6 separate regions of the Homo sapiens genome follow, and all the other regions are linked to region 6. Evidence: promoter capture Hi-C in 16 types of primary human blood cells and fetal thymus (Javierre and others, 2016). All regions are on one chromosome and are shown on one strand. Each heading gives the region's core, a stretch centred on a gene start or on the middle of the fragment in contact. The rest is flanking DNA. Distances are from core to core; before and after follow the strand shown. Region 1 overlaps STX3 (syntaxin 3). Region 2 overlaps PATL1-DT (PATL1 divergent transcript). Region 3 holds the start of TRV-TAC1-1 (tRNA-Val (anticodon TAC) 1-1). Region 4 overlaps OSBP (oxysterol binding protein). Region 5 overlaps MRPL16 (mitochondrial ribosomal protein L16). Region 6 holds the start of TNKS1BP1 (tankyrase 1 binding protein 1).

Region 1 (3,981 bases), core at 435-2,934, 2.4 Mb after region 6:
TGTCTTGCTGCTTCCTAAATGGCTGTTATTGGCCTCCTTCCCCACTGGAAGCTCCAGGATCTTTGTGGAATCATAGTTCCTTAGGATAACATTATAACCCCATCAGCAACATGGAGCTGTGTACTTCTCCTTTAAAGCTTAATTTGTTAATAAATATTTATCGAGCCGCTTTTATGTGCCAGGTGCTTTGGATCATAACTGAACCTTAACATACCAATCTGCGCTTCACTGAGATTCTGTCTTTCTCTAGTCATAAAATTTCATTCAAGTCAGGATTCCTGCCTCCCCTCTTCTCTGTACCTGGGAGGATTCATTCTCTGGAAGAGCTGTTTTTCTGTGAGCAGACGGGAACCAGAGCTGAGAGTGATGGGGATTGAGTAGGGATTACAGCCCCATCAGCCGGAGGCCAGAAAATGCTTGGATGAGAGAAGAGGATTAATTTTATTTTTATTCCTGTGAGTGTGGGGGAAGTCGGGGGAATTGGCAGGAGCTAAGGGAGGGACACTTGTTCATGTTGTCCTCTCTCTCTTCCAAAGCTTCCTCCCTGCCTTTTGTCAAAATTTCTACCCATCTTCCAAAACTCATTTTTTATAGGTAGTAGTGTTCTGTAACTGCAACTTAGAATACTCTCCTCCATTCTTGCAGCTCTCACGGGGTGCATGTTGCTTTGCAGTAGGTTGTGGGTTTTTTTTTTTTGTTTGTTTGTTTTGTTTTTTTAATTACCATGGAGTGGGTTTGAAACCACTGTCCGTTGCTTTTTATAAGTTAGACCCTTTATCCCCTTTATCTTCTAGGTCCTTTTGTCTTTAAGGTCAGTGTTTCTAGTACTTCTTGTCACCACATCAATTACAATAACAACAATCATTTATTGAGCAGCTACTATTGGACAGACTTGTGCTACATACCTTACATACCTTGTCTCTAATTCTCTCAACCCTGCAAAGCAAAGTGGGTTTTTATATTATTCTCATTTACAAGCAAGGAATTGAGATATTATTCTCGTTTTACAAGTGAAGGAATTGAGTCTCAGGTTTGACTGAGATCCCCATCTGGGAAGTGGTGGGCTCAAGAATTGAACGTGTGTGTCTTGCTTCTTCGTATCCCCTTACACTGTATTCGATCATCTCCCTAACTGCACTATATGCCTCTGATGCAACAGCAGTTATGATAGTCCTCTGGAGCCCCAGGGCCTAGCACTCTGCATGGTAAGCCTGTATTAAACATTTGTCTCTTAGTTGATTAATAACAGCTTGACCCTTACACATCCTTTACTCATTATTATGACTTATTTTTCTTGCTCCATTCCCTGTGGGCTGGTGAATCTTTACCTACCTGAAGTGGAACATTTACTGAGGGAATCCATATGTTTGCTAATGAAGCCAGACCTTACAGGTCCATCCCCAAGGACGGAGTTCCAAGGCTCCTAACTACACCTAAACACCTAGCCCAAGATGACATGGAAGGTTGCCCCTATTTAGAAAGACAATGAAGGCGAAGATGTGGCTACCATGGTGAAAACTTAGGTACTCCATTTTTCTCCTGGCAAAATCCTACATATCTCCAAAGTCTCAGTTCCAGTGTCATCCAGCTTCCCAGGCTGACAGCACTGAGCATGCCTTTCCTCGGACCCCGCAAACTTTACTTTTGGTGGTGTATACAAATAGCCACATGGTATTGCAATTTCAGATGCCACTGGCTCTGTTAGTTCTTGTGCTCTGGGAGAGCACAGACCACATATGTCTCATTCTCTCTTATACCTTCCCAGCCCAAAGCCTGTAAAGCTGTAAACCAAACTGTCCTGTCAATGAATGGGGATATTCTGTAAATTTATTTGCCCGCAGATTCTGTAGTCCCTGAGGGGCCTTACCTCCAGCCACCTTTATGTTAGGCCCCTCTGCAACTGCCCCCACCCCATCTCCTCTCTCAGGGTAGCCTGCTTTTTGGCATTGGACCATTTCCATGGCAACTTTCCCCAGTCTCCATCTGGAAACTGAGTGAAGTTCAACCCCCCACCTAAAGAGATTAGTGGAGCAAATACTGTCTGGTTATGTTCAGCTGTCTGGGTTAGGACAGCTCAGTATGGCATCAGGGTTTTTTTTTTTTTAATAAATTTTTAAGTTTTAGCCTACTTTTAGATTTATGGAAAAGTTGCAAAGATAGTACAGAGAGTTCCTGTCTAGTCCTCTCCTGGTTCCCTCACTTGGTCTCATTTTATACTACAGTGTACACTTAGCAAAACTAAGAGACTTATATTGGTACATTACTATTCACCCAACTCCATACTTTATTTGGATTTCACTAGTTGTTCCACTAATGTCCTCTTTCTGTTCTAGGATGCGATCCAGGACACCACATTGCATTCGGTTGTCACATCTCCTTAGCTTCCTCTGGCCTGTCTGACAATTGCTTAGTCTCTTGTTTTTTGTGACCTTGGCGGCAGGGCTCCGGCATCTGTTTTCTAGTGCTCTGGAAGCACATTTCCTGTGGCCAGTGCTACATGCTACAGCTAGGGTGGTGGTGGAGCAGCCGTTAAGAGGCAACACTCCAGATGGCTGAGGACAAAGTCCCGGCAGCCAGCTGCCCAGGCACCCCTCCTAGCTCAGGTGCCCACTGTCTGCAGGATCTTGGTCAGGTTGCTTGGTGTCTTTATGCATTAGTTTTCTCAGCTGTAAGATGGGGAATATCCCCAGAAGACTGGCCTAGGGATTAACTGTCATGGTCAATAGAAAGCACACATCTTAGAAGGATCCTCACTCAGCACATGTTGAGTGTTTAATGAAGGTTGCGCGTTGTCACTGTTATTTAAGTATTCTAGAATGACCATGAGGGAGAGGAAGCTTGTGGGACAGAGGCTGAAAGGAGGGGTTGGGGAGAAGGCTGAGGATGGAGTAAGACAGTATTAGTTCCTTTCTTCCTCCTCTCTGTGTCCTTGAGAACTGAATGCCATGGTGGTGTCCAGAGGCCAGGACAGGAGACAGGGGAAGGGAGTGGAAGAGAGGGAAGAAGTGTGGGGTGGAGGAGGAAGGATCTAAAGGACACCTGAGATCTCCAGGAGGAAGAAGAAGGCCTTCTTTGAATCTCCTTGAATGGCTCCTGGGATGAGAAAGAAAGCAGGAAGAAGGTCTGATCTCCTCACCCTGAGTGGCCTTCTTGTAGGTTTCATTTGGGTAAATCCACACATTCCACAAAATTTCTCCAAGGAGTCACTTCTGCCAACATTCTCTAATAAGCTTCCATCTTCCCCAGGCTCAACCTTGAATTCAGGCAAGGTTGGGCACTGCGTCTTCTCTTGGGTGTGTAATTCCTTGGGCTAAAGCACTGTCCTCACGTGTCATGTGGTATTGTATCGCATGGACTGTTGCTTGGCAGATGTTAGATGTGCAATAAATACTGCCGGATGAAAGAATGAACAAATGAATCTGTTACTTTGCATGGAACATTGTGGCTGTGCTGATGGGTGATGAGACCTTGAGATGCCTCTCTGAGTTAATGAAGGAGTGAACATTGGATTAGACCACCCAGGTTTCTAATCTTGGCTGTGTTCCTTACTGTGTGATTCTGGATGAATTAACCTTCCTAGCCACAGATTCCTTGTTAGTGTACATAACATCTACCTAGAGGGCCTTTTCCCCCTCTTCTTCCTTTCTTGGGAGTTTTTGTCTTTCTTGTCTAGACCCACCTCAGGTCTGGAGAAGCAAAAGCAGGTAGGATGGCATGTGAGGATTGGACTTCAATGATTTTTGTATCCGACAAGCAGAATGCAAGTTCTTTTGAAATACGCATAGAAGATTAAGAAATACCATGTATTAAGACACAAAGAAAATGCCAAATCTCACAGAATAAAAGTCATATAGGCCGTTTCCTAACAGTGATACAATTAGAAATTAATACAATAATTGTCCTCCCCAGGCTAATCCATATTGGAAATGTAAGAACGCCTTTCTAAATAACTCTTGGGCTAAAGATAAATCAAAGTAGAAA
Region 2 (3,732 bases), core at 341-2,840, 2.4 Mb after region 6:
GAATCACTCAGCAAAGCTGCTCCAAAATTCCTGGCCCATAGAAGTATTTTATATATATATATAAAATATAAAATACTTTATTATATATATTATATATATATATATAAAATAAAATGGTTGTAGTTTTAAGCCACAAATTGTATTGTTTGTTTTGTTTGTTTGTTGTTTTTTGAGAGGGCTGCAGTGCAATGGTGCAATCATAGCCCACTGCTACCTCAAACTCCTGGGCTTAAACCATTCCCCCACCTCAGCCTCCCCAGTAGCCAAGCCTTCAGGCACGTGCCACCACATGTGGCTATATATATATATGTACATTTCAACCACAAAGTTTTAGAGTAGTTTATTGCTCACTAATAGATAGTGGGAATGTGTCCGTTTAGAAAAATTATACAAAACTTGGAAATAAGGAAAAAGGATTGTTGTGTGCCTTGCAATGTTGTAATAAGAACATTATCTAACAAGCCTGCCTAAAGGTCATTTAAAGTTCTACAGAGAGGTAACCTTGTTTGACTTAGTGTTTATTATTAATTAATGAGATCCCAGACTCAGTAAAGTTAGATATTAGTTTATAGAAGATTAACAAGTTGCAAATTATTTTTGTCCAGTGGAGATAATTTCATTTTGGTGGGAAAGATCATCTCAAAGGAGACAGTTTTATTGCCACACAGGACATTAACCAATAATATATTTAACTTTTGAGTCTTAATTCAGCCATTTCCCCCACTATATAGTTCATAGTTTCTTGTGTCCTCCTTTGAATCAGCTTCACCACCTTGCTGTTTCTTTTCATTAATAAGATAAATAAATATTTTGACACATGCTCATAATGTAATTGAAAGAGAATAATTTTTATTTAGCTTTTTGAAAGTTATACTTTGGCAAACTATTAAACTTTTTTTTTTGCAGGGGATTCAACTCAATACGTATTTATCGAGAATCTATTATGTAAAATGGTGAGAAGTGATATCTATATTATAGCCTACTGTGCAATAGCATTATGTCTTTAAAAACGCAATGTACATACCTTAATTAAAAAATGCTTTATTGCTAAAAATGCTAATGATCATCTAAGCCTTTAGCGAATTTTAATCTTTTTCCTGATGGAGGGTCTTGCCTCGATGTTGATAGCTGCTTACTGATAAAGGCAGTGGTTGCTGAAGGTTGGGGTGGCTATGGTAATTTCTTAAAATAAGACAAGGAAGTAAGCCACCTCGATTGACTTTTCCTTTCATGACGGAAAAGTTTCTCTGTAGCATGCAGCGCTGTTTGGCATTTTACCCATGAATTAGAACTTTCAAAATTGGAGGCAATTCTCTCAAACACTGCTTTATCAACTAAGCTTGTGTAATACTCTAAATCCTTTATTATCATTTCAGCAATGTTCACAGCATCTTCACCGGGAGAAGATTCTATCTTAAGGAAACTCTTTTCTCATGCATAAGAAGCACCTCCTTACCTGTTAAAAGTTTAATCATGAGATTGCAGGAATTCAGTCACATCTTCAGGCTCCACTTCTAATTCTAGTTCTCTTGGTATTCCACCGCACCTGCAGTGACTTCCTCCACCGAAGTCTTGAACCTCTCAAAGTCATCCATGAGGGTTGGAATCAACTTCTTCCAAAGTCCTGTTAATGTTTGTAGTGTTATGAAATATATATACATATAGGTTTTCATACACAGGAAACAGAATCTCTTTGACCTTCTCTTGCCTTCCTTTTACCTGCCTTCCTTTCACCTACCCCAAAGCAGGACTCTAATCTTCTGCTTTTATAATTGTGGATCATAAGACTCATTTCAGAGAGGGTCCCAACCCATGGCCTGGGGGAAGGAATGCTGATATAATGAAGCTTCCATAAAAATCCAAGAGGACAGCTTCCTGATAGCTGAACAAGTGGAGGTTTCTGGGGAATGGCTACCTGGGGAGGGCATGGGAGCTCCGTGTCCCTTCCTCCATACCTCTCCCTGTGCATCTCTTCATCTGGATCCTTCGTGATATCCTTTATAATAAACTGGTAAATATAAGTGTTTCCTTAGTTCTGTGAGCCACTCCAGCAAATTATTGAACCCAAAGAGGGGGTCATGGGAACCTCAACTTGAAGCTGATTGATCAGAAGTTCCAGAGACCTGGACTTGCAACTGGTGTCTGGGGGGAGGAGGGAGTAATCTTGGGGACTGAGCCCTTTACCTGTGGGAACTGACATATCTCCAGGTAGTGTCAGAATCGAATTGGAGGATACCCAGCTGGTCTCCACTGCTTGTTGGTGGGGAAAATCCCCCATATATTTGGTCACAGAAGTCTTCTGTGTTGATTGTTGTGGTGTGAGAGCAGAGGACAAATGCAGTTTAAGTTTTTCCATGACAATGTTGATACTTTGACCCCTTCCTATGACTCACAAATGTTCTTTTTGCGGGCAGGGGGCAAACAAGTGCAGTGGCACGATCTCGACTCACTGCAACCTCCACCTCCTGGGCTCAAGCCATTCTCCCATCTCAGCCTCCCAAGTAGCTGGGGCTATAGGCGGGCACCATCATGCCCGGCTAATTTTTGTATTTTTTGTAGGGACAGGGCTTCGCCACGCTGCCTGTACCTGGCTTCACAAATGTTCTTAATGGCATTTAGGATGGTAAATCCTTTCCAGGTTTTTTTGTTTTGTTTTGTTTTCCTTTATCTAGTCATCCAGAAGTATCCAGAAGGTTTTCAATTTCTTTTGCCCAGATCCATCAAAGGAATCATTATCTATGACAGCTATAGCCTTACAAAATGTATTTCTGAAATAATAAGACTTGAAAGTTGAAATTGCTGTGTGGGCTGCAGAATGGATGTTGTGTTAGCAGGCCTGAAAACGATTAATCTTGTACATCTCCATCAGAGTTCTTGGGTGACCAGCTGCATTGTCAATGAGCAGTAGTATTTTAAAATAAACCAGTTTTTTTTTTTTTTTTTTTTTTTGAGTAGTAGGTTTCAGCAGTGGGCTTTAAATATTCAGTAAATCACGCTGTAAATGGATGTGCTGTTGCTATCCAGGCTTTATTGTTTCATTTACAGAGCAGAGGCCGGGTAGATTTAGCATAATTCTTAAGGAACCTAAGATTTTTTAGAAGGACAAATAAGCATTGACTTCAACTTAAAGTCACCAGCTGCACTAGCCCCTGACAAGGGAGTCAGCCTGCCCTTTGAAGCTTTGAACCTAGGCATTGAAAGTCCTAGATGGTATCTTCTTCCAATAATATAAGGCCATTTTGTCTGCATTGAAAATCTGTTGATGTAGCCACCTTCATCAATGATGAAGCTAGATCTTCTGGATGACTTGCTGGAGCTTCTACATCAAGCACTTGCTGCTTTACTGTGTACTTTTATGTTATGGAGGTGGCTTCTTTCCTTAAACCTCATGAACCAAGCTCTGCTAGCTCCAAACTTTTCTTCTGCAGCTTCCTCACCTCTCTCCACCTTCATAGAATTGAGAGAGTTAGGGTGTCTGGATTAGGATCTGGCTTAAGGGAATGTTGTGGCTAGTTTGATCTTTTATCCAGACCACTGAAAGTTTCTCCATAACAGCAATAATGCTGTTTTACTTTCCTACCATTTGTATGTTCACTGGAGTAGCATTTTTAAATCCTTTCAAGAGCTTTTCCTTTGCATTCACAACTTGGCTAGCTTCTTGGCCCAAAGGCCTAGTTTTTGGCCCATCTTGCTTTTGACATGCCTTCCTCACTAAGCTTAATCATTTCTAGC
Region 3 (4,048 bases), core at 581-3,080, 2.2 Mb after region 6:
CGTGCCTGTAGTCTCAGCTACTGAGGAGGCTGAGGCAGGAGAATCACTTGAACTCAGGAGGTGGAGGTTACAGTGAGTCGAGATTGCACCACTGCACTCCAGCCTGGGCGACAAAGCAAGACTCCATCACCAAAAAAAAGAAAAAGAAAAAGAAAAAGAAAAAAAAGCAAAGGAATAAAGAATCACTACTCCTTAGGCAGAGCAGCCCACTAGGGCTGCTGGCTGTCCACCTTTATGGTCATTTCCTGATTATATGCTAAACAAGGGGTGGATTATTCATGAGTTTTCTGGGAAAGTGGGGGACAATTCCCAGAACTGAGAGTTCCTCATCTTTTTAGACCATATAGGGTAACTTCCTGACATTGTCATGGCATCTGTAAACTGTCATGGTGCTGGTGGGAGTGTCTTTTAACATGTTAATGCAGTATAATTAGCATATAATGAGCAGTGAGGGCACCAGAGGTCACTCTCTTTGCCATCCTGGTTTTGTGGGTTTTGGCCAGCTTCTTTACCACAGCCTGTTTTATCAGAAAGGTCTTTATGACCTGTATCTTGTGCCGACCTCCTATCTCATCCTGTGACTTAGAATGCCTTAATCTCCTGGGAATGCAGCCCAGTAGGTCTCAGCCCTATTTTACCCAGCCCCTATTCAAGATGCAGTTGCTCTGGTTCCAAGGCCTCTGACAGAAGGTTGAAACATTAGAAAATGTTTAACTATACAACAATCAGGAGAAAATATAGAATAATTTTTGAAATATAATCTCAAAGTGAGTAAGTATTTTCTAGGCAGGAAATGTTAAAAGCCCCTCTCCTGCACCCCCCCCAAAAAGATGATGAAATTGACTTCAAAAAAATGTTTAATTTCTACATCGCACGGAATATCAAAAATATAATCAAAAGACAAATGGCAACTCTGGATACATTTGCAAAATATATCCTAAATCTGAATTTACAAAGAGCACCTAAAAACCTATTTATTTATTTATTTATTTAGAGACGGAGTCTCGCTCTGTCACCAGGCTAGAGTACAGTGGCACGATCTCGGCTCACCGCAACCTCCGCCTCCCAGGTTCAAGCGATTCTCCTGCCTCAGCCTCCTGAGTAGCTGGGATTACAGGTGCATGCCACCACACCCAGCTAATTTTTGTATTTTTAGTAAAGACAGGGTTTCACCATGTTGGCCAGGATGGTCTCGATCTCTTGACCTCATGATCCGCCCTCCTCGGCCTCCCAAAGTGCTCAGATTACAGGCGTGAGCCACTGCGCCCGGCCTAAAAACCAATTTAAACATAAATTAACAGAATATATACATAAGAAAATTGAACAAAAGAGGTGAACAGATAGTAGGAAGAAAGGAAGCTTTTAAGTACATGAAAAACGTTCAACCTAACTCACAATAAAAAAACACAAAATAAACCATTTCCAGCTGACTCAAAATTCAGTTATTTTCATTTGAGAGAGACAGGAAGAACAAGGGCTTTCATATTGGTGTGAGTGTAATTTGATACAAGCTGTTTTGAAAGGAGCTGTGGCAGGGTTGGTGGGGACGAGCAGGGAGGTTGGTGGGACGGGTTTGCAGAGGGCGTCTCACTTTTTTGCCCAAGCTGGTTTCAAACTCCTGGGTTCAAGCCATGCTTCCACCTCGGCCTCCCAAAGTGCTGGGATTACAGGTGTGAGCCAGTGCGCCCAGCCATCAATTAAATTTCTTCTGAGACATAAAGGCAACACTCTTCTTGCTTGGGTTGGTACTGTGTTCTGTCCCTGACCAGGGGTGTAACCCTGGGCCATTTCTTAATCTCATTATGCTTCCTCTCCCTCGTCTGTAAAACGGGATAAATAATAATAGAGACATTGTGAACATTAAGTTAGCTACCCATGTAAGTGCCTGTTCAAGGTTTTGCTAGGATTATTTTACATATTGCCCTGCCTGAAACCAAGGAACAAGGAAATCTGCTCAGCATTGTTCCTAAGACTAGATACAATTTAAGTGTTCATCAAAAGGCATAAAGAATTGTGATATATCCAAACACAGGAAGTAAAAGGATAAGCGAAGATGTATGAACGAAATAGGAAGATTTTCAGAATATTGTTGAGGAAATGGGAGCGGTACCTATGTGTGCTACCTTCGTACAAAAAGCGTGAAGTGGGTTTTAAAGTAAATGTACGTGTATACTGGTGAATGCATAGACAATTTCTGAAGGGTCACAAAAGAAACAGCTAACCATTGAAAGATGGGATGGAAACATCAGTTGTGAAATACGTGGAGGGATTCTGAATTCTGTGCATGAAATTAATTTTTCAAAAAGCTTTTTTTTTTTTTTTTTTTTTTTGAGACGGCTCTCTCCCAGGCTGGAGTGCAGTGGCGCGATCTCGGCTCACTGCAAGCTCCGCCTGCCGGGTTCACGCCATTCTCCTGCCTCAACCTCCCGAGTAGAGTAGCTGGGACTACAGGCACCCGCCACCACGCCTGGCTAATTTTTTTGGTATTTTTAGTAGAAACGGGGTTTCACCGTGTTAGCCAGGATGGACACGATCTCCTGACCTCGTGATCCGCCCGCCTCAGCCTCCCAAAGTGCTGGGATTACAGGCATGATCCACCGCGCCTGGCCTCAAAAAGCATTTTTAATTTAAATAAATAAAGTATGAGGGCGGCCTTCGTGATGTCCTTCGACTTAGTGGTGGCAATTTTTAGAGATGGCCCAAGCAAGGCTTAGGAGAAGGTAGGTGAGCCAAGGGGCAACACCCAGGAACCCAGAAGCCGGCTGGCCAGGTAGTGGAAAGGCGCAGGCGCAGGGGCGAGCGAAGCCTCGGTGGAGCGGAGCCGCCTGCACCTCCAGAGAGGCGCCATACGGGGGCCGCCGCGGAGGCCGACTCAGCGCCGAGCGCTAAGAGAAACCGGGCTGATGCAGCAGGCGGGAAACAAGCCGTAGAAATTCTTGAGACACGGGTTCGTCGCCAGCTTCCTGGTGCAAAACCCAACACCTGGCTCACAAAACGCTAGGTAACATCTCATGGTTCCACTGGGGCTCGAACCCAGGACCTTCTGCGTGTAAAGCAGACGTGATAACCACTACACTATGGAACCCCACACGACTAAAACGTTCCTCCAGGATTTGATAATTGTTCAAAAAGACATTTTGGCACTGGGAAATGGTCATGTAGACTTGACATCCGGCGATTGTGCACAGAGAAAAACTTTCAAAAGGATTCCTCATTTTCCAGTATTCAGAGGAGCACGACCGCACAGAAACATTGTCAAAATGTCTGCGTCTCCAGCTTCCTGAACCAAAACCCACGATTGGGCTCGCAAAATGTTAATACTAAACATTATAAAGAAAGGAAAGAAAAGAAAAAGGTATGAATCACGCCGTGGTTCCACTGGGGCTCGAACCCAGGACCTTCTGCGTGTAAAGCAGACGTGATAACCGCTACACTATGGAACCGCGTGCGGAATGGCTGTCTCTGGATTTAGCAATTCTGCATAAAGACATGTTAACAACGTGGACTGAAAGGGATTTACTGCTCAGCGATCACGAAAAGAGAAACTTTCACCAGGATTACAGACTTTCCAGTGTAATTCCTACCCACGCTCTCTTTAGAGACAAAGGTTCCACACTTACTTGTGGAAAGAAAGTGCCTCCCCTGATGTGTTCATCGCGGAGAGGTCGCACGTGTCTGGCTCTGTGGCGCAATGGATAGCGCATTGGACTTCTAGATAGTTAGAGAAATTCAAAGGTTGTGGGTTCGAGTCCCACCAGAGTCGCTTTTTGTTTGAAGAAGAGCAAACGGAAAGTTAGGCGGAGGGAATGGATATAAAATAGATGAAACGAGAACTGTCTACCATTTAAAATTTCCGGAATGATGTGAATTGCAGCTAATTGCAGTTCCTGGTTATGTCCCTTCACTTGAAGGCGTAAAGAATCCCGTTCCTCTATCGAGCCTTTTCTCCTTCACTTTTACCTGGCCCCAGTTTCTAGTGGCGAGATAAAGAAATTAGGGAAATATAATCAAAGTTACCAAGTTTTTTCCCCATATTATTCTTTTATAT
Region 4 (3,811 bases), core at 294-2,793, 2.3 Mb after region 6:
CTGCTAGACAGAGAGACGGGGCCAAAGTCAAAATATAACTTACTACCAAACAATTTACAAACCAGTGAATTCTCCTTTCACTGATGAATGAACATACAGTATGGGAAATGACAGGGGATAAGATAACAAAGTCAGCAGATGACCATCTTGGTCAGTTCTAGGTAAACAAGCTCAGTATGATTAAACTATCAATATATCAGGAGAAAATCGTACCATTTTCCTTGAAGAATAATCAAAACTTAACTTGATTGCTCCTTTTAGTTAACCAATGCAGCAAAATGAAGATTTTTCATAGAAAATATCACATATACAGTTTTTGGCAGTCTACTAAAATTGTTTCAACTTAACTAACAAAGAGTTAAGTAAGAAGGTATCAGGAGAAAAAGCACGAATAGATCCAAATTCTGAGGAATAATATTCCCAAGACTGGCCCACCAATAAAATAATTATTTCTCAAAATTTTAAGGTAGCCAATTAAAAGGCAAAAGAACAACTGTTACGCCTCTAGGACAGAATTTTTCAACCTTGGCCAGATAATTCTTTGTTTTGGCGGCTGTTTGGTATATTATAGGAGGTTCAGCAGCATCCCAGGCCTCTACTCTCTAGATGCCATAGCACCTCCCTCCCTTCAGCTGTGACAACCAAAAATGTCTCCAGACATTGCCAAATGTCCCCTGGGGAGGAGAATCAACCCTGGTTGAGAACCATCACTCCAGCAGAAATACTGCATGAAGACGAGAAGCTTGAGACCTCTAGGAAATAGGTGATAATCAAATGACACAGCATAATGATGACAAACAAAATCTGTGCATAAAAGGGGCAAAAAGAAAGTTCCCCAGGCAGGTGTTCTTTGTTCCTGACCTGACTCTGCCAGCATCTTCACAGCTTTGGCCTTGGCCAGTTCCAGGGCCGTCACCCAGCGCTGCCGCTCAACTTCTGAACTAGCTTTCAGATGGTAGGTCTGAGCACCCCCATTGGAAATGATGAAGTTGCAGGAGTCCTCCACGGTGATGTTGGCTGTGGCGAGGTTGATGGTACCACGGCAGGTATGTCTCATTTCTGCCTTTGATCTGTAATAACAAGACAAAGACAATTTAAACAGAAAGTTGACGGTTTATCCTTTATCACATTCCATTTCTTTTCATAACTCTGAGCTCCCTGAAAATATGACAGTCTTAGGAATCAGCAAGTTCTAGTCCCTCAAACGGGTCCCTAAAATTCACGAAACAATTAGTGGGGATTTCCCTTCAGAGCCTATAAGTGTTGTTTCTGAGTCAGATTTTTTTTTTTTTTTTTTGCTTTGCTGTCCCTCTTACCATTTTCCTTTTAGAAATAGGCTTTACAGGCCGGGCACCCGTAATCCCAGCACTTTGGGAGGCCAAGGTGGGCAGATCACCTGAGGTCAGGAGTTCCAGACCGGCCTGGCTAACATGGTGAAACCCTGTTTCTACTAAAAATCAAAAAAATTAGCCAGGCGTGCGGGTGTGTGCCTGTAATTCCAGCTACTCAGGAGGCTGAGGCAGGAGAATCGCTTGAACTTGAGAGGCGGAGTTTGCAGTGAGCTGAGATCCCACTATTGCACTCCAGCTTGGGCAACAAGAGCGAAACTCCGTCTCAAAAAAAAAAAAAAAAAAGAAAGAAAGAAAGAAAGAAAGAAATAGGCTATACTGAGGTATAACTACATGCAATGTTAATTTAGCAATTTTAAAGGTACAACTGAATGAGTTTTGACAAATGTACACAAGTGCATAACCACCACCACAATCAAGATGTAGAACATTTCTATCATCTCAGTAAGTTCCTTCATGCCCTTTTGCAGTCAGGAATTATCTTTTACTTAGCAAGTTGTAATTATAAATTGCCCTATAACCTCATGCAACAATCTCATTTCCTAAGAATAGCTCTATTTTATATATACCAAACCATCTCGCTCCCGACTGTAACTCAGCCCAAATGAGAACTCAGCCCAATGTTACATCATGCTTAGAGTTATATCGCAGAAGTGTAAAAAAAGCACCCTTAAATGTTTAGAGTATTAAATATTGGCTATGGTTCAAATGATATGAAATAAGAATAACTAGCTTTCTGGGGAAGTAAAAAGGAATCACCAAGTGTTTTAATCTTTCTGGAATATGTTCATTCCTAAGGTCCACCATACTCTACTGGTGGGAACTCCTAAGCCGTCTATTAATAGCTAGGAAAGATTCAGCAGATCTGCTCTCAGAGAACTGGGTGTAAAAATTTTCCCGATCTCTAGTGACTGACAGTTCTATTAATAGACTAACTTTTGAACTTTACAGCATTACTTGGTGACAACAAGCTATAAGACACTTCACATAGAATACCAAGCTTCACATAAAATATCAAGCTTCTAGCACAATCGAGTGTCTAACACAAACTGTGTCATTTCCCTACCACCCGCTGGTTATGCCCAGGAACCTGCATGTTGAGACTGCACTTTTCCCTGTCCAAATTGGAACACAGAGGTCAAAGTCCTTTGCCAACTGCCACAGTACAAAGCAGAGCCATTTCCCTTTCAGTGGAGTCAAGCAGCCAAACACACCTGGCATATCCAGAATTCCTGCATGCCAGAAATGGCACACACCCCATAAGATTTGGTATGTTTGAGAAAGTCTGGAAGACAGGTTTGTTGTTCAATTTTTCACATGAACTGCTCTTCCTTCCTCAAATAGTATGGGAAGGCCAGAAGGGTCTCAATGAACTGGGCCATTTTCCATCTCCTGCACCTGCCACACTGTAACATGAATCCGTTTTTTCTATTCTTACCTCCCCACCCCCAAGCTTCAGTTACATTATGAATAATGCAGGCTGAATTACAGATGCACAGCTGACAGGCCAGCTCGCTCATGTTTTCTACTCCAAGTATACTACTTGGACCTTCCTCCACATTCCTCCTTATTGGAGCTTTTTGGAAACCACTTCTTAGGAATCTCTTCTGCCTGGGTCATCATTGTAGGAATCTCTTCTGCCTGGGTCATCATTGTAAACTAAAGAAGTTTCTCAAATTACAAAAAGTCTGTAGCAGTTTAAAAAATACCAAGGAACTCTGGGAGTAAGGCAGACTTGATCTCGGAGCTCTTGAGTCTGGGCAGATACACTTATGATTATAAATGATTAGTGCAGAAGCTGGAAAGACATGAATCTCAGGGTACAAGATAGGTTCTTCAGGCACTACAATATTAGGTGGTATTTTCTGGCCAGAAAGTTCTTCCCTGAAAAGGCTAGCTGAAATAGTAATTCAATCTCTAGAAGCTAGCCAGGAGAACTAATACTATGGCCTGTCACAATGTTTCTGGGAGAGTTGGGATTCCATATAAGGTTTTAAGTAATGGGACATCTAAGTAACTGGGTACGTAAGGAAGCCCAGGATAGGTAAAGGAAGTGGTTTGCCAAGGCCTATTAGGACAGCTCATCCGAGGATGGGTCTAGGAAGTACACAATCCCACTTAAAAGGAAAACAGTATTTTGGAAACAGCATATATAAGAAACTGCAGGTTTTGGAGGTATGAAAAGCAGGAGGAATGACAACTTGTCTAAATAATTCTTGGAGGAAGATGAGGACCAGAAGAATCCTGCAGGAAAAAATAAACTGCCAGTATACTTGATAGGAGGTATTTCAGTGCAATTTTGAGGGTAGTGCACAGATTGATAACTCTGGATCCCGCTGGTTTGTTTATGGGTGGGACCACCTAAGTTGACTAGGGCAGGCCTATGGCATATTTCCCAATATGTGGTTTGGTATGTTTTGGAAGGAGTTTTATATGTAGTCAGACAGGTACCACTAGCTCTT
Region 5 (4,131 bases), core at 1,572-4,071, 2.5 Mb after region 6:
CTCCCTCTTGGAGAATTTCAGACCCAGAAAAGGCCACGCAGTTCTAACTTTTGTCATCGGTTCCTTTTGCTAAAAGGCAAAGGGTATGTTCCTTGCCTATTGTCCAACATACCCCTTCCAAGATTGTGAGAAGATGGGTAGCTGGGCATCAATAAATATTGAATCAATTGACCTATGTACTGTTGTTTTTTTCTTACTCTAAAAATGTGTTTTTAACCTAGTAAAATATCACAGAAACTGGCTCCTGAAGTGTGTACGTATAAAAGGCAGTATAAACATTTAAGTGAGACTCGCATCATAGATGGGGGAATGCAAACATTTGTTTCAGCCTTCATGTTCATCTTACACCCCAGGAGGACCAAGAACTCTTTAGTCATTGAGGCCTATTTCTTAATCTTTTAAGGGATTAAGAATGACCAATGAGAAGTTATATCCTGAAGTGATGTTTAAATTTTATTTAATAAAAATACAGTTTTCTTTTTAAATCAACAAATAACATTGTTTTTCAGAAATCTACTCAAATGCTGCTCCTTAGTTATGGCTTAAGAGCTACCCAAAGACTTCAGTGGGTAGGCTGAGGGGAATAGAAATGCAGAATCCTTCTTTCAGTAGCCTATATACAGTTATCTCCTACACTCACTACACACGTTTGGGCATGTAGAACTTGCCCCAGTATTTCCCCTTGTGGGTCAAGTCATATGGGCTCAGTACTTTCCGTATGCCCAGCATGTTGGCAGTGGCTATTCGCTCAAATGTCCAGGGGTTCTGGTTGTTACGTTCTCTTTCCTCTTGATCTTTTCGCATCTTCTCTAGAGTCCCGCGGCTCACAGCCTTTGCTGCGAAGGGCAACTTGTGGGCAACCTGGTCAAGGAAACCTTGCACTTCTTCAAATTCACAACGCCCACCCATCTCTACAACAAGGCGGCCAGCCTTCACAGGTGTCACGTAGTGGTCAATAGCACCTTTGCCTCCCCCCATGCGATGCCCAACACTTTTGCGAGTGATGGGCTTGAAAGGGGCTGGTACTCGCCATATGGCAAACATGTTCTTGGGGTCCATAGAGCGGTTGATTGTCAGGCGCATCATTTCAAAGTGGCCCCAATGCAGGTAGCCACCACCCAATGCCTAAAAGTGAATGGGAGAATTAGAAACACATGCGGACTTCGACATCATCTATGGGCTCATTATTTTGTCTCTTCTAGTAACTGTGGCTTCAATGATACAATTGAAAATAAAAATCTAAGTTCTAATAAGTCCCATGGAGGAAAAGCCTAGGGTACACAGTAATAGAGTGAAGGGGGACCCATTTCAGTGGAGAGCCAGGAAGGCTTCTTTGAAGAGGTGACATCTAAAGCTAAGACCAGAATAAAAAGAACTAGCCAAGGGAAAAGAGAGGAGTGTGCCAGGCATAAGAAAGGCTTATGTGGAGGCCCTGGCACAGCAGAGGGCTTGGCAAGTTGAACAGAAGCCAATGTGGCTGGAGTAGGGTGAGGAATGGGGAGAGTGGGCAGGAGGTTCTGAGAGGTCAGTGGGGGTGATTATGTAGGCTGCAGGAAGAGGACTTTGGAATATCACTCTGGCTGCCTGGTGGAAAACAAATCCTAGTGCACACCCATTTGTGTGGCTGCTGACATCAAGTCTTCATGGAAGCTACTCAACAAGTAAGGAAACAGCTGTCTTCCACATCCTATATTGTGGATGGTTTTATTTTTACCAGGGCTTGAAAAGATCTCATGATCTGATTATGGGGCACATTAGCTAGCCCCTTCCTTCTGCTTTTACGTTATTTTCACTCTACATTAAAAAAAAAAAAGATATATAACCCAAATGTTTACTGGGTACCCAGTAGCCTCTGTACATACCAGTTTAAAGAGCAACTGGTGGCAGTTCTAATAAAAACTGTGGAGGAAGAGACTAAATTATCTCAAGGAGTATGAGATTTTGTTATTCCCTAGCTTCCATCCCATTGCTGCTCGATGCTGAATTCACTCACCAAGATTGCAAAATTGCCTTCTGTAAACTCCGTAGCTTCAGTGGAAGGTCCCCGTATGTCACTTAAATTTTTAGGTTCTCTTCTTACTTTTGGCACAAGTGGTGCCCTTTCAATAAATCTAAGCTTGGGTTTTTCAGGAATGGAAACATCTAAAAGAAGCACAGACAACCAGGATAAAGTAAAACTATACATCTCAAAAGATCTATTTTCCTAGAAAGATTTATAACAGGTGAAAGTCTTAATTTCTTTCTTCTTCATTTTTTGGTAGAGACAGGGTCTCACTATGTTGCCCAGGTTGGTTTCAAACTCCTGGCCTCAAGTGATTTTCCTGCCTTTACCTCCCAAAGTGTTGGGATTACAAGTGCGAGCCACCATATCCAGCCTGAAAGTCTTAAAGTTACCACTGAACAGTAACTGTAAAGGTATATTACATTTTTGCAGATGCTTTTAGTGACACTGGAATCTTCTGGCTGTGACAGTGGCTAATGCAAATGTTTCTAAAACTTTAAAGATAGCAAAGTTTTATCCTCTGAATCCAAATGCACTTATTAATCACCAACTCTGTGCTTAACACTGTAACAGGGATTGTTTGGAAACCACTAGTTCACTTAATCTTTAAAATAACTTTATAGCCTTGGTATTCTTTCAGGGCTCTCTTTTTAAAAATTTTAAACTTGTCAAAGTTTAACACAGCTATATCAAAGGGCCAAATTAAAAATATACAGCTCAGTGAATTACCAGAAAGTGAACACATGAACACACACCACTATTACCCAGATCAACAAACAGGATATTAGGCAGGTAGTATTTTTAATCTCCATTTTATAGAAGAGGAACCCGAGGGCTAAAAACACTTTATAATCTGGTCTATGCCATCCAGTTCAACAGCAAAGCTACATACCATGTCACAAAAATATATACATATATTTCCCTGCCTCTCTGGATGTTAATGGGGGTAGTGGAAGAATACTATATTGTACATAAAAATATCTAAGTTCTCCAGCTCTGCCACATTCTTGTTGAGAAACTTACAACCTAGGAATCCTTTGATCAATGCTCTTTCTCTCATATATGCAGGGACTTTTCATGCTGAGACCTGCACAGGTCAGTGTGCCAGGTTTTGGTGGGTGGGCAAAACTTCAGGCCAGACATGTGACATCTTCTTTATCATCCTTACTTGACGATTTGGGGAAAAAAGTTAACATACAAATCATTTTTAAAAATTTCTTAAATGAACCAAGTATGGCTTTATAATGGAGACAAATACAAAATAGAAGAGTTTGAGGAAATACCAAATTATTACTATCAGAGTTTCAGAAGCTGCCCCTCAACTTCTATATGTAGCTACAGAGAATCTTAGTAATGCTTTCTTTCACCTACAAGTCAAAATGTACTTTCAAAACGTGGTTTAACAATTCTGTACAGAAGACCCTCAGATGTACAGACCCTATTCATTTTTTTTGAGGGTTCCAGTATATTTCTTTTTTAAAAAGTAAACTAGTTTTACGATATTGTGGCTTAAATTTAACAAATTAAAGCTTTTTCACATATCGTTAGATGACTGCATATATGTAAACTTATTTGGAAAGAACATCAAAAGTTCAGGTTTTTTTTTTCTTTTGAGACAGAGTCTCACTCTGTTGCCCAGGCTGGAGTGCAGTGGCCTCCTGAGTAGCTGGGATTACAGGTGTAAACTACCACGCCCAGCTAATTTTTTGTATTTTTAGTAGAGATGGGGTTTCACCAGGTTGGCAGGCTGGTCTCCAACTCCTGGCCTCAAGTGATCCACCCGCCTCCGCCTCCTAAAGTGCTGTGATTACAGGCGTGAGCCACCATGCCCGCTCAAAAATCCAGATTTCAGGCCAATGACTACTGGCTGAGTGGACCATGGGACACACACCAGTGGGAGGTTTTAGGGGAGCTATCTCATTAGACGCTGCTCCGTAAGAGCAAGGAACTTTTTTGGTTTCCTTTGTCTTTGATTTATTTCTAGTGCTCAGAATATTAGTTGGCAAAACTGTAAGCTCTAAAAACATATTTATTGAAAGAGTGAACGGGGATGGGAAACACGAGAACATTCCTATGTCATCTCCCACCCGCTCCTGGTTTCCATCAGAGAAAAGATTTACGAACAGGAG
Region 6 (4,074 bases), core at 866-3,365:
AAAAGGGGTTATGTGGGCTTCACTCACCAGCCTAGGGTTGGCTTTAAGGAGTTCTGAGGGGGACAGAAGAAATTAAACCAAGAGGCACAGCCTGGTGGTAGAAGCCTGTCACATGAGCTTCAGGATCTGATATACCAAGATTCAGTGCTGGGTGGGTCTACCACTTTCTAGCCCTGTGACTTCTCCAAGCCTCAGTTTCTCCAACTGAAAAATGGGATTATTGAGACCCTGAGGGGGCTTACATGAAATAGTACATGAAATAGGCTTAGCACAATGCCTAGCACATAATAAGTGTTCAACAAATGTTGCCTATTATTACTGTGATTCCATTCAGTGTCACCAATGAGCTAACATCCCTGATAACCACCTCCTCCTCTTCCCTGACCCCAGGCTACCAGCATTCCCAGACCATTCCTTCACTCTCCCAGGCCCTAGTCCTGTCACCTGTTCTTCAGATACTCCAACCACCTCCTCAGTTCCCATCCTGACTCCTGAAGCACTCTCCCACCCACAAAAACATGGAGACCCTGGGGGATAGGGCCCTGCACCTCTCATGCAAGGCGGAAGTTTCCCTCACCTGGTATGCAGAGCCCTGAGGACAACCCAAACTTCTCCAACCTGCAAGGGGCATTGCCTCACTTAAAGTCACCCACTCCAGCTGGTCTGGGAAGACAGCACCAAATCCTTAAAAGGGACCCCCAGTGCTCATCCTCTGCAAAATCCAACACCCCTCCCCTAACGCTGACCCTGCCCCAGGTGTTTCAAAGATGGGAGAGGGTATGAAGACAGTAGAGAAACCCAGTACTGTCAACCCATTGGTCAGTTAACCACCACGGAAGACTGCCCACTGTGGGTGGGTGAATAACTGTGCAGAGCCAGGCCAAGTGTGGTGGGGGGAGGGGCACATGATAGAAAAAATAAAATTAAAACACAAGATTGTTTCCTTGTCCTTGAACATTATTACTAGGAACATAGTGTGGGTGGTTGGAGATGGAAATTAATTGGCTCAGAACCAAAAAAATCCTTTCACCTGGGGTTCTGATGGGCCCCTCTGCGGTATGAGGGGCTGCAGCAATGAAGGCGGGCTCAGAGTCCCCAGGTGCGGAGGTGGCCACAGCAACTCAGAGACCCCAGCCAGGGGCCCCAGGTGACCAAGGCCACCAAGGCTGTGGCCAGAAGCTGCGATTCGCAGCGGTTCTGAGCACTCCCCACCCTCAAGAGACCAGGGGGTAGAGGGTAGCAGGGTAGAAACGAGCTGACCCCTGGCAGATAAGGCCTCCAGAAGGGCTGGGCAGCTCCAGCCCCGGAGGGGACTCGGCGCAGGCGGGGTCGCCCCTATGGACCCCAGGATCTCCAGCCGGATCCGAGGCTAGAGAGGTCGGCAGGGACAGCACGTAAACTGCTGGAAAGAGGGAGGGCCAACGGGAAGATGGAACAGCCCCGGGCAATGGGCTGTCTGGAGGGGCCCAGTGGGGAGCTCTGGACACAGAAGGGACGGCGGCAGCCGAAGAGGAGGAGGAGGAGGGGGCTGCGGTGGCGGCAGAAGCGGAGGACCTGTGAGCGGGCTGTGAAGCAGCCGGCGAACAGACGGTGGGCTGCAGACGTCGATCAGGTGGGGGCGGACTGGGGTGGCTGGGGGCGTGCCGAAGGAGCCGGGGGAGGGGGCTAGCGCGGCCCGGAGGAAGGGGAGGCAGGGGTCCCTCCAGCGGCTCTGCCCGCCCCCGGCCCCGCCCCAAGCCCTCGCCCCCTCCCCCCTTTCTTCTGGCTCTGCCAGCACGAGCTCCAAGCCATGCGCCCTCCGCCTCCGCGCACACGCGCCACCTTCCCCCGGGCCTCCAGCGTCCCCAGCGCCCTCGGCCCCTGCAAACTTTCCTGGTGACCCCCCGACCACCACCACCTCAACCCGAGGTGTCGGCTGGAAAGCACCCACTCCTTCCATGCCCCTCCCCCGCCCCATCCCGGACCCCGCCCCCTCCTTCGCCCGACCGCCCCCGCGCACTCACGCGCTCGCCCGGGGTCCGGCTCCGCTCGGCTCGGGGCCCCGATGCCAGTCCCCGCCGCCGCCGCCGCTGCTACCGCCGCCGCCGCCGCCGTCACCGCGGGACGAAGCCACTGCGAGCCCCGGCGGGGCCCCGCCCCAACTCCGCCCAGGTCCACGCCCCCAGGGCGCTTCATGAATATGCATGAGCCGGTTGGAACCCGGGAGTGGGAAGCCCGTGCAGAATTCGTCCCACCGTCGGCAAACAGGCGCGGCCCAGCACTCAATTATTCATGAGGCTTGCAGATGAGGGGCCCGCCCCAGTCTCAGACCGGGGCGAAACTGACGCAATTCAGCCGGGAGCGCTCGGGTAAAATGGCCACCGAGACGACTGCCTAGAGAAACTGCCTTGGCGGCCCCTCCCGGGCTCCGCCGCCTGCACAGAGCACAGTATCATCGAGCTACGCCGGCAAGAAGGTAGCCGCCGGCTGACTGAAGCGGCTTCCTGATACAACCACCTGAGTGCTGAGAACGCGCGCAACGTGGCCACCCTCCTGTGTCAATTCAGATTTAGAGCCACCGTGAAGAAGTCTGGCAGCTCTGCATTCCTCATTAGTGACCTTTATCTCCTTTTAGGCCCCTTCTCAGACATGGGTTCCTCCCTACACTGAAGTTTGTATACCCCCTTCTTCCCGTAAGAACAAAAGCTTCACATATAACTCCGTACTTTGTTGCACCACCACCAGGCTGCAACCACCACCACTCTACGCACACGCTCATCCTCCCCGACTCTCCAGGCTCAGGTTTCCACTCCCCCGGCTGCGGGAAGGACAGTCAATCCTGATTTCATTATCGAAAGCCTTGGAAGACCCTTGACTCATAGGTAAGGATGCAGCCAAGAGCTGCCTCCCCCTAGCTTGGTTGGCTAATGGAGTGTAACTGGGAGAAACTTCCTAATCAGATCAGCTCTCATTTCTAGACTCTCAGGTGGCCCATCCGGGCAGAGGCGGGTGAAAACCAATGCTCGTCCAGCCGGGAACAGAACAGGATGTACCTCGAGACTTGCTTCCCGGCTGGCCAGGAAGGCCCTGCCCAGTCTGACCAGAGCAGTAAACACCACCAATAAAAGTGGGAGCAACACACCAAGGCTACAAAGAAAGCATGAGGACATGGTTTCCAAAGTCAGTTCCCTTTATTAAATCATTTTCACAGACCAGAAATACAAAATGAAAGTAGAAATAGGCCCCAGGTAGGAGCTACAGGCCTGGCCTCACATGACCCCTGCTCCAGCAACTTGAACAGGACAAGCAGCAGCTACATCCTTAAGGTCGGGAAAGTAAGATGAGGATTTGGATCCTGCATTGCCCTGCCTCCCACCCTATCTCTCCCCAAATTATAAACAGCCATCCTTGGGAAGCAGCAGAGTTAAGACGTCTCCCCACTGCCCTAGTGACATACACACCAACAGGAGAGCATGTTCAGATGGCACAGAATCCAGGGACTGCATTTCATGAGGAGAAACTGGTACCAAAATATGGGTGGGGAGTCGGGGGGTGTGAGAAGGCAAGCGCAAAGAGAACCTTCCTCCGTTTCTACTCATCGGATCCTGACGCTGAGTCCTCTGAGCTGGGGGGAGTACTGGCTAGTTCTTCTTCTTCAGAGTCCTGAAAACCAAAGGTGTCTTAAGGGAAAAGCTGGAGTCCTGGGTGCCCCACCCACTCTTCAGTGAAGGGCCCGCAATTCCCTACCGCCCCCAACTACAGCACCCCCCTTCAGAACCTCAGAATTCCACCATCCACTCCAACTCATTACTCTTACAGACCAACCCCACACAGACACACATGCCCCTCACCCTGCCCAGCCCACAGGCCCCACATTCCTGCCGCACCTCGCTCCTCCTCCTCTTCTTTTTGCTCTTGTTCTCTCCCGAAGAGCTCTCATCACTAGACACAAACTCTTTGCTCTTGAAGCTCTCGCTTAGCTGCCTTGAGGACGACTTGGATGATGAGCCCCTAGAGGGCGTGGATTTCTTTTCCATCTTTACCTTTACTTTCTTCTTCTTCTTTGACTTGTCCCTGTATTGGCAAGAGGGAAGA

The links. The method cuts DNA at HindIII sites, captures the fragments that hold promoters and counts their contacts. A CHiCAGO score of 5 or more calls a contact.
Region 1: a fragment that was not itself captured here is called in contact with the fragment with the promoter of TNKS1BP1 in region 6 in 1 of 17 cell types (naive CD8 T cells); the score reaches 5.3 in naive CD8 T cells.
Region 2: a fragment that was not itself captured here is called in contact with the fragment with the promoter of TNKS1BP1 in region 6 in 1 of 17 cell types (total CD4 T cells); the score reaches 6.5 in total CD4 T cells.
Region 3: a contact is called between a fragment that was not itself captured here and the fragment with the promoter of TNKS1BP1 in region 6, in 4 of 17 cell types (total CD8 T cells, activated CD4 T cells, non-activated CD4 T cells and 1 more). The highest score is 7.5, in total CD8 T cells.
Region 4: a fragment that was not itself captured here is called in contact with the fragment with the promoter of TNKS1BP1 in region 6 in 1 of 17 cell types (naive CD8 T cells); the score reaches 6.6 in naive CD8 T cells.
Region 5: a fragment that was not itself captured here is called in contact with the fragment with the promoter of TNKS1BP1 in region 6 in 2 of 17 cell types (naive CD8 T cells and naive CD4 T cells); the score reaches 6.8 in naive CD8 T cells.

The regions. Positions count from the first base shown.
Region 1 is chr11:59,759,728-59,763,708 of GRCh38, forward strand. The region is part of intron 1 of STX3 (syntaxin 3); the gene reads left to right. Among named protein-coding and RNA genes, the nearest start is that of STX3, 6.3 kb to the left of the region's middle. The HindIII fragment of the contact is 2,301 bases long and covers 535-2,835 here.
Region 2 is chr11:59,674,021-59,677,752 of GRCh38, forward strand. PATL1-DT (PATL1 divergent transcript) reads left to right here. Exons shown (of 4, transcript NR_187296.1): 3 at 907-953; 4 at 1,377-2,021. Among named protein-coding and RNA genes, the nearest start is that of PATL1-DT, 6.6 kb to the left of the region's middle. The HindIII fragment of the contact is 507 bases long and covers 1,338-1,844 here.
Region 3 is chr11:59,547,617-59,551,664 of GRCh38, forward strand. It overlaps TRV-TAC1-1 (tRNA-Val (anticodon TAC) 1-1), which reads right to left and starts at 3,085; the gene lies at 3,013-3,085. The region is part of intron 3 of LOC102723575 (a long non-coding RNA gene); the gene reads left to right. It overlaps TRV-TAC2-1 (tRNA-Val (anticodon TAC) 2-1), which reads right to left and starts at 3,443; the gene lies at 3,371-3,443. It overlaps TRR-TCT3-2 (tRNA-Arg (anticodon TCT) 3-2), which reads left to right and starts at 3,678; the gene lies at 3,678-3,763. RefSeq lists enhancers at 2,682-2,901, 3,057-3,558. The HindIII fragment of the contact is 947 bases long and covers 1,358-2,304 here.
Region 4 is chr11:59,609,520-59,613,330 of GRCh38, forward strand. It overlaps OSBP (oxysterol binding protein), which reads right to left. Exons shown (of 14, transcript NM_002556.3): 2 at 862-1,070. Among named protein-coding and RNA genes, the nearest start is that of OSBP, 4.3 kb to the right of the region's middle. The HindIII fragment of the contact is 1,607 bases long and covers 741-2,347 here.
Region 5 is chr11:59,805,708-59,809,838 of GRCh38, forward strand. MRPL16 (mitochondrial ribosomal protein L16) reads right to left here. Exons shown (of 4, transcript NM_017840.4): 3 at 1,994-2,142; 4 at 433-1,125. The coding sequence ends at 640. STX3 (syntaxin 3) reads left to right here. Exons shown (of 11, transcript NM_004177.5): 11 at 1-171. Among named protein-coding and RNA genes, the nearest start is that of MRPL16, 3.0 kb to the right of the region's middle. The HindIII fragment of the contact is 1,415 bases long and covers 2,115-3,529 here.
Region 6 is chr11:57,322,837-57,326,910 of GRCh38, forward strand. TNKS1BP1 (tankyrase 1 binding protein 1) reads right to left here and starts at 2,116. Exons shown (of 12, transcript NM_033396.3): 1 at 2,004-2,116. It overlaps SSRP1 (structure specific recognition protein 1), which reads right to left. Exons shown (of 17, transcript NM_003146.3): 16 at 3,867-4,053; 17 at 3,152-3,642. The coding sequence ends at 3,571. RefSeq lists a silencer at 1,920-2,199 and enhancers at 2,330-2,379, 2,409-3,282. The HindIII fragment of the contact is 11,807 bases long and covers 1-2,683 here.